Linked DNA regions of Homo sapiens: region 1 is linked to region 2. The links are contacts of gene promoters, found by promoter capture Hi-C in human tissues and cell types (Jung and others, 2019). All regions are on one chromosome and are shown on one strand. Each heading gives the region's core, a stretch centred on a gene start or on the middle of the fragment in contact. The rest is flanking DNA. Distances are from core to core; before and after follow the strand shown. Region 1 overlaps CEP70 (centrosomal protein 70). Region 2 holds the start of PIK3CB (phosphatidylinositol-4,5-bisphosphate 3-kinase catalytic subunit beta).

Region 1 (3,302 bases), core at 244-2,743, 260 kb after region 2:
AACCAGTTACTGTGATTGCTCACCTGATTTTTGGCTCTTATGAAGGTGCTTTTTTGTAAAGATAGTTCTTAAATTTGGTGTTCCTGTTGGGAGGACAATCGGTGGAGGCTTCTGTTCAGTCATTTTGCTCCGCCTTCAATATTAACTTTTGATGGGGTTAGACCTCAGTGCTTTTCTTTGCTCACTTTTATGTAAAATTAGTTTTTCTGAACTTTTATAATGGTTGAGAGTTCAGGAAAGCTTTTCTAACATCTTGGACTTCTAATATTTTTGTGTAGTGTTTGAAAATATGGCAGTTTGTTTTCTGAGACTTCCTGCTTCTATTTTCTTCCCTATTTTGGTGTGGATCTTCCCTTCTCTCTTATCCCTATCTTGCTCAGTTTTGATTCTATTCCCAAAAGTTTCTTCTCATCATGGGCTCTGTCATGGAAATGTAACATGTCCATTTTGAGTGTTCACAGGGTTCCAGCATCTTCTGTTTTTCTTCTAGGAAAGGGTAAAACCCCTTCTGGTTTCACTTCCTGTTTCATGTTAGTGCCATAGTGAATATTAGCGATACCAATGAATTAGGGAGTTCTCTCATTCTCATAACCATCAGACACTGCCTGTAGCTTTTTTTTCTTCCAGCACAGATGCTGGTACCATGCAGCTTTTATGGCCGTTAGTGGTTTGCCCTCCCCCACTTATATTTTAGTGTTCGTGAGAATAACTTTTCACCAGCTTTTGATATAAATAGTTAGCTCTCTATATCTGCCAGTTTTGTATCCACAGATTCAACCGACTGCAGATTGAAACCTGCAGATAAGGAGGGCCAACGGTACTACACCATTTTATTGAAGGAACTTGAGCATCCATGGATTTTGGTACTTGCAGGTGGTTCTGAAACCAATCCCCATGTATAGGGAAGACCTGCTATTGCTTTTGGGTTTTTAGCTTTGCTCTCTAGTTGCTTCTGTTTTAATGTGGGATGCAGAGATGAAAAAACTAGGCTGTGGCCATGCCGTCTTCCCAGAATTGTTTCTTTATTCTCTTACTTTTAACTGCTTTAATGTTTTTATTTTAAGTGGCTTTTTAGTGTTTTAGAAGTCTTTTTTCCCTTCAACAGCATATAGCTTGATTTTTAAAAATCTAGTTTGACAGTCTCTTTTAACTGGAGCCATTCATGATTAATGTAATTACTGATATGGATTTAAATCTACCATATTGTCAAGTACCATGTGCTTTTCTCTTTGTTTTACCTCTTGTCTGCTTGTGTTTCTCTTCTTTTGGGTTTTTAAAAATTTTTTTATTTTTTCCGAGGCAGAGTCTCTCTCTGTCACCCAGGCTGGAGTGCAGTGGCACCATCTCGTCTCACTGCAACTTCCATCTCCTGGGTTCAAGTGATTCTCCTGTCTCAGCCTCTCAAGTAGCTGGGATTACAGGCATGAGCCACCACACCCGGCTAATTTTTTATATTTTTAGTAAAGATGGGGTTTTGCCATGTTGGCCAGGCTAGTCTTGATCTCCTGACTTCGTGATCTGCCCGCCTTGGCCTCCCAAAGTGCTGGGATTAGAGGCATGAGCCATTGTGCCTGACCCTTGGGTTTATTTATTTATGTATTTATTATACTTTAAGTTCTAGAGTACATGACAGCGTGCAGGTTTGTTACATATGTATACATGTGCCATGTTGGTGTGCTGCACCCATTAACTCGTCGTTTACATTAGGTACTTCTCCTAATGCTATCCCTCCCCCATCCCCCCACCCCACGACAGGCCCTGGTGTGTGATGTTCCCCTTCCTGTGTCCAAGTGTTCTCATTGTTCAGTTCCCACCTATGAGTGAGAACATGCAGTGTTTGGTTTTCTATCCTTGCGATAGTTTGCTCAGAATGATGGTTTCCAGCTTTATCCATGTCCCTACAAAGGACATGAACTCATTCTTTTTAATGGCTGCATAGTATTCCATGGTGTATATGTGCCACATTTTCTTAATCCAGTCTATCATTGATGGACATTTGGGTTGGTTCCAAGATTCTGGTATGTTGTGTCTTTGTTCTCATTGGTTTCAAAGAACATCTTTATTTCTGCCTTCATTTTGTTATTTACACAGTAGTCATTCAGGAGCAGGTTGTTCAGTTTCCATGTAGTTGTGCGGTTTTGAGTGAGTTTCTTAATCCTGAGTTCTAATTTGACTGCACTGTGGTCTGAGAGACAGTTTGTTGTGATTTCTGTTGTTTTACATTTGCTGAGGAGTGCTTTACTTCCAACTAAGTGGTCAATTTTTGAATAAGTGTGATGTGGTGCTGAGAAGAATGTATATTCTATTGATTTGGGGTGGAGAGTTCTGTAGATGTCTATTAGGTCTGCTTGGTGCAGAGCTGAGTTCAAGTCCTGGATATCCTTGTTAACCTTCTGTCTTGTTGATCTGTCTCATATTGACAGTAGGGTGTTAAAGTCTCCTATTATTATTGTGTGGGAGTCTAAGTCTCTTTGTAGGTCTCTAAGGACTTGCTTTATGAATCTGGGTGCTCCTGTATTGGGTGCGTGTATATTTAGGATAGTTAGCTCTTCTTGTTGAATTGATCCCTTTACCATTATGTAATGGTCTTCTTTATCTCTTTTGATCTTTGCTGGTTTAAAGTCTGTTTTATCAGAGACTAGGATTGCAACCCCTGCTTTTTTTTGCTTTCCATTTGCTTGGTAGATCTTCCTCCATCCCTTTATTTTGAGCCTATGTGTGTCTCTGCACATGAGATGGGTCTCCTGAATACAGCACACTGATGGGTCTTGACTCTTTATCCGATTTGCCAGTCTGTGTCTTTTAATTGGGGCATTTAGCCCATTTACATTTAAGGTTAATATTGTTATGTGTGAATCTGATCCTGTCATTATGATGTTAGTTGGTTATTTTGCCCATTAGTTGATGCAATTTCTTCCTAGCATTGATGGTCTTTACAATTTGGCATGTTTTTGCAGTGGCTGGTACTGGTTGTTCCTTTCCATGTTTAGTGCTTCCTTCAGGAGCTCTTGTAAGGCAGGCCTGGTGGTGACACAATCTCTTTGCATTTGCTTGTCTGTAAAGGATTTTATTTCTCCTTCATTTATGAAGCTTAGTTTGGCTGGATATGAAATTCTGGACTGAAAATTCTTTTCTTTAAGAATGTTGAATATTGGCCCCCACTCTCTTCTGGCTTGTAGGGTTTCGGCCAAGAGATCTGCTGTTAGTCTGATGGGCTTCCCTTTGTGGGTAACCCGAGCTTTCTCTCTGGCTGCCCTTAACATTTTTTCCTTCATTTCAACCTTGGTGAATCTGACACTTAT
Region 2 (3,432 bases), core at 307-2,806:
TTTATATTTTTTAATTCTTCTGGATTTTTTTTTTTTTTCCTAGACAGGGTCTTGCTCTATTTCCCGGGCTGGAGTGCAGTGGTGCTACCGTGCTATCTCGACTCACACCAGCCTCGACTTCCCTCGACTTCCTGGGTTCATATTATCCTCCCACCTCAGTCTCCCAAGTAGCTGGGACAACAGATGCACATCACCACACTCACGTCATTTTTGTCAGTCTCGCCATATTGCCCAGGCTAGGTGTGAACTCCTGGGCTCAAGTGATCTGCCCACCTCGGCCTCCCAAAGTGTTGGTATTACAGCCTCTTCTGGAATTTATTTTTCAATGTTCTTGCTTTAAATCGAAAGTCAATTAAAACCAGGATCATTGGCCGGGCACGGTGGCTCATGTCTGTAATCCCAGCCCTTTGGGAGGCCGAGGCGGGCTGATCACCTGAGGTCGGGAGTTCGAGACCAGCCTGACCAACGTGGAGAAACCCCGTCTCTACTAAAAATACAAAATTAGCCAGGCGTGGTGGCGCATGCCTGTAATCCTCAGGAAGGCTGAGGCAGGAGAATCGCTTGACCGGGGGACGCAGAGTTGCGGTGAGCCAAGATCGCGCCATTGCACTCCAGCCTGGGCAACAGTAGCGAAACTCTCATTCAAAATAAGTAAATAAATAAAAAATAAAAAAACTAGGATCATTTCTCAAATAAACTATTGGTTTGTCACTTAATTGATTTGTCACGTTTGCTTTTTATTATGTTGTACTTCTAGATTTTATCCCTGACTACTCAACTATTTGTCCAGGGTAATATAGGAGCATTACGTTAGAATATACTAGCTTTGGAGTGAGTTAAAATGTTGGTTTTCAGTAAGTAAAATTTAAGTGTCCCACTAGAAAGAGGACTGTGATTTTTCGCGGTTGGGGTCAAAGGTAACAGGAAACAAGGTAGGCAAAAAGGGGTAAAGTTTAAGGCTCTGCAGACAAATGTTAGGTGTTGTTACTGCAAAATTGAACAAAGAACAAGAATCTTGGGCTTGAAAGCCTGGACTTTTCCCTAGAAACAACCATTCACAGTGTAGGGACTGAAGGGCCAGCTGTGAGGCAGCCGAGCTAGCGCCCTATCCTCACAAAGGGAGTGAAAGACGGAGACGGGTATCGGGAAAAAAATAAGTGCTGCGTCCAAGAATTTAGGAGTCAGTCCATGTCGCAGAACAGGGAGAAGGGCTGGGAAGAAAAGGCCAGCAAGGAACCTAGGAAGAGCGGAATCTCTCGGGAGGAGGTTATGGAGGCCGCAGCGGGTGATGGGTCTCTCCTGAAGGCGACTTGCCGGGGATTCCCTATTCCGCAGTCCTCTGGGAGTCGCAAAGAGAGTTAGGAAAGGCCGTGCAGCAGCGTCGCAGCCGGGCTGGCAACGGTAGAGGAATCGGCAGTGAGGCCTCTCCCCACACCCTGCCAGCCCAACTGCCGCCGCCGCCGCCGCCGCCACCGCGGGGCCCGGGATTGGCCCGAGGGCGGCGCAGGGCGGGGCGGGGGCTGCTGGGATGCAGGCCTGAGAGGCTGGCGCGCGCGCACACGGGCGCGGGTTCGGCGGCGGCGCGCGCGTGCTCTGTCGGCCTGTGCGGCGCTGCGGCGGAGCGGGCCATGGCAGTGGGGAGGGGGCGAGTGTAGTGCTGCGCGGGGCAGGCGGGAGGTGATCGAGAGAGGCAGGGATGGGGGCGCCGGAGTGGAGCGGTTGCGGCGGCCTGGGCTGCTGACTGCGCACTTGGAATAGTAGCAGGCGGCGGCGGCGGAACGCCAGGCAGGTGAGTGCGGCGGCCGGGACCCGGATGCGGCGCGGCTGAGGGGCGGCTGGGTCGCGGCGCCGGCTGCGGTGCCCCCGGGCGTGCTGGCGGTGCGTTCTAGCTTGCCGCTACCTGCGGCGCTGGCGACTCTTGTGGTTGCACCGCGCTTCCTGCCAGCTTGGAGGATAACCGCCTACCGGCCGGTGGGGGCGTCTGGCTTGGTTGCGGCCCGCCCTGGGCTCTCCAAGGTGAGTGGCGCCCCCCGGCCCCTGGGCGGCAGAGACGCTGCCGGGCGTCCCGGGTCACTGTCGCTTTGGGTCCCGTTCCTGAGGGGCGTTTCTGTGGAGAGACGGCGTACTCGCGCCCCGCGTCTATGCGGACACCTCCGGAACTTCCCGACCCTCAGGTGCCTTTTTGCGCAGAAGTGTATTTCAGAGGCGTGGACCCAGGGTTATTAGGTTATGGACATGTTTTCGAATCCCAACGCCGCTGCTGACCAGTCCTGGGGCCTTGGGCCAAAATATCCTGATGTGTTAAATGGAAATAATAATACATACACCATAAGGTTGTTGTGAGGTTAGGCATAACTGAACAAGTGCTAAGTAAATGATACCCCTGCTGCAGCATCTCGTGTTAGCTATTGCTAATTCCTGGCTGCTGGCGTGCGTTTGGGGGCACATTTATTTCCGATCTGCTCTGGTGTTGCAGTAACCGATACTGGAGTTGCTTAATATTGGAGCCTGTTAACCTCGCAGTGGCCAAAATAGAATCCTATAGTCCCTTACTAGAATCCTGCAGTCTCTTCCCGCAGGGCTGAATTGGAACCCTGTCTCAGGTACTGAGTGGGAATTACTGCTGAAATGAAACCGAGCAAATTCGGGATTCGCTTAGGATGAAAGATGGTGGGACGTAAACTTGAAGTGCTTTGCTGTTTCATCTCAAGTGACACTTGAACTCTGCCACTTGTTACAGAGTTATAAACACACGAAGAGTATGGAAACAGACTCTTTTTTCTGCATTGCTACATCCAAAGGGAGTGACAAGTGCTTTTGTAAACATCATTGTGGGCAGTGTGACTGTCTGGTGAAGTCATGATAATTAAATGAGTACTTATTTTGAAGCACTGAATGGAAGTTTGGAGATATGATTCGTAATAAAATTGTCTCCAACGAGTCAGAGGTCTCAGCAGTTCATTAATCATTTGGGGATTTTTATGCTACATTGTAAGATTTTATGGTAAAAGCAGAACTGTTTAAGTCATAATAATGTAGCACAGGAAAGGGTGGTCAGATAAGGATCTTAACCCAGTTTCAGAATGCAGGTATGGAAGAAAGTAAAGTCTTTTTTCTGACCAGGTGCGTTGGCTCACGCCTGTAATCCCAGCACTTTGGGAGGCCGAGGCGGGCGGATCAATTGATTCCAGGAGTTCGACACCAGCCCAAGCAACATGGTGAAACCCCGTCTCTACCAAAAACACAAAAATTAGCAGGGCGTGGTGGCGGGCGCTTGTAATCCCAGCTACTTGGGAGGCTGAGGCAGGAGAATCCCTTGAACCCGGGAGGCGGAGGTTGCAGTGAGCCGAGATGGCACCACTGGACTCCAGCCTGGGCAACAGAGGGATACCCTGTCTCAAAAAGAAAAAAAAAAAATCTTTTTGAGACCGA

Evidence for each region. Contacts are between HindIII fragments. The study calls those that stand out against the background at their distance.
Region 1: a contact is called between a fragment that was not itself captured here and the fragment with the promoter of PIK3CB in region 2, in 1 of the 25 tissues and cell types used here (aorta).

What each region holds. Positions count from the first base shown.
Region 1 is chr3:138,575,642-138,578,943 of GRCh38, reverse strand. The region is part of intron 2 of CEP70 (centrosomal protein 70); the gene reads left to right. Among named protein-coding and RNA genes, the nearest start is that of CEP70, 17 kb to the left of the region's middle. The HindIII fragment of the contact is 5,148 bases long and covers 1-3,302 here.
Region 2 is chr3:138,833,052-138,836,483 of GRCh38, reverse strand. It overlaps PIK3CB (phosphatidylinositol-4,5-bisphosphate 3-kinase catalytic subunit beta), which reads left to right and starts at 1,556. Exons shown (of 24, transcript NM_006219.3): 1 at 1,556-1,789. RefSeq lists a silencer at 1,320-2,059. The HindIII fragment of the contact is 36,690 bases long and covers 1-3,432 here.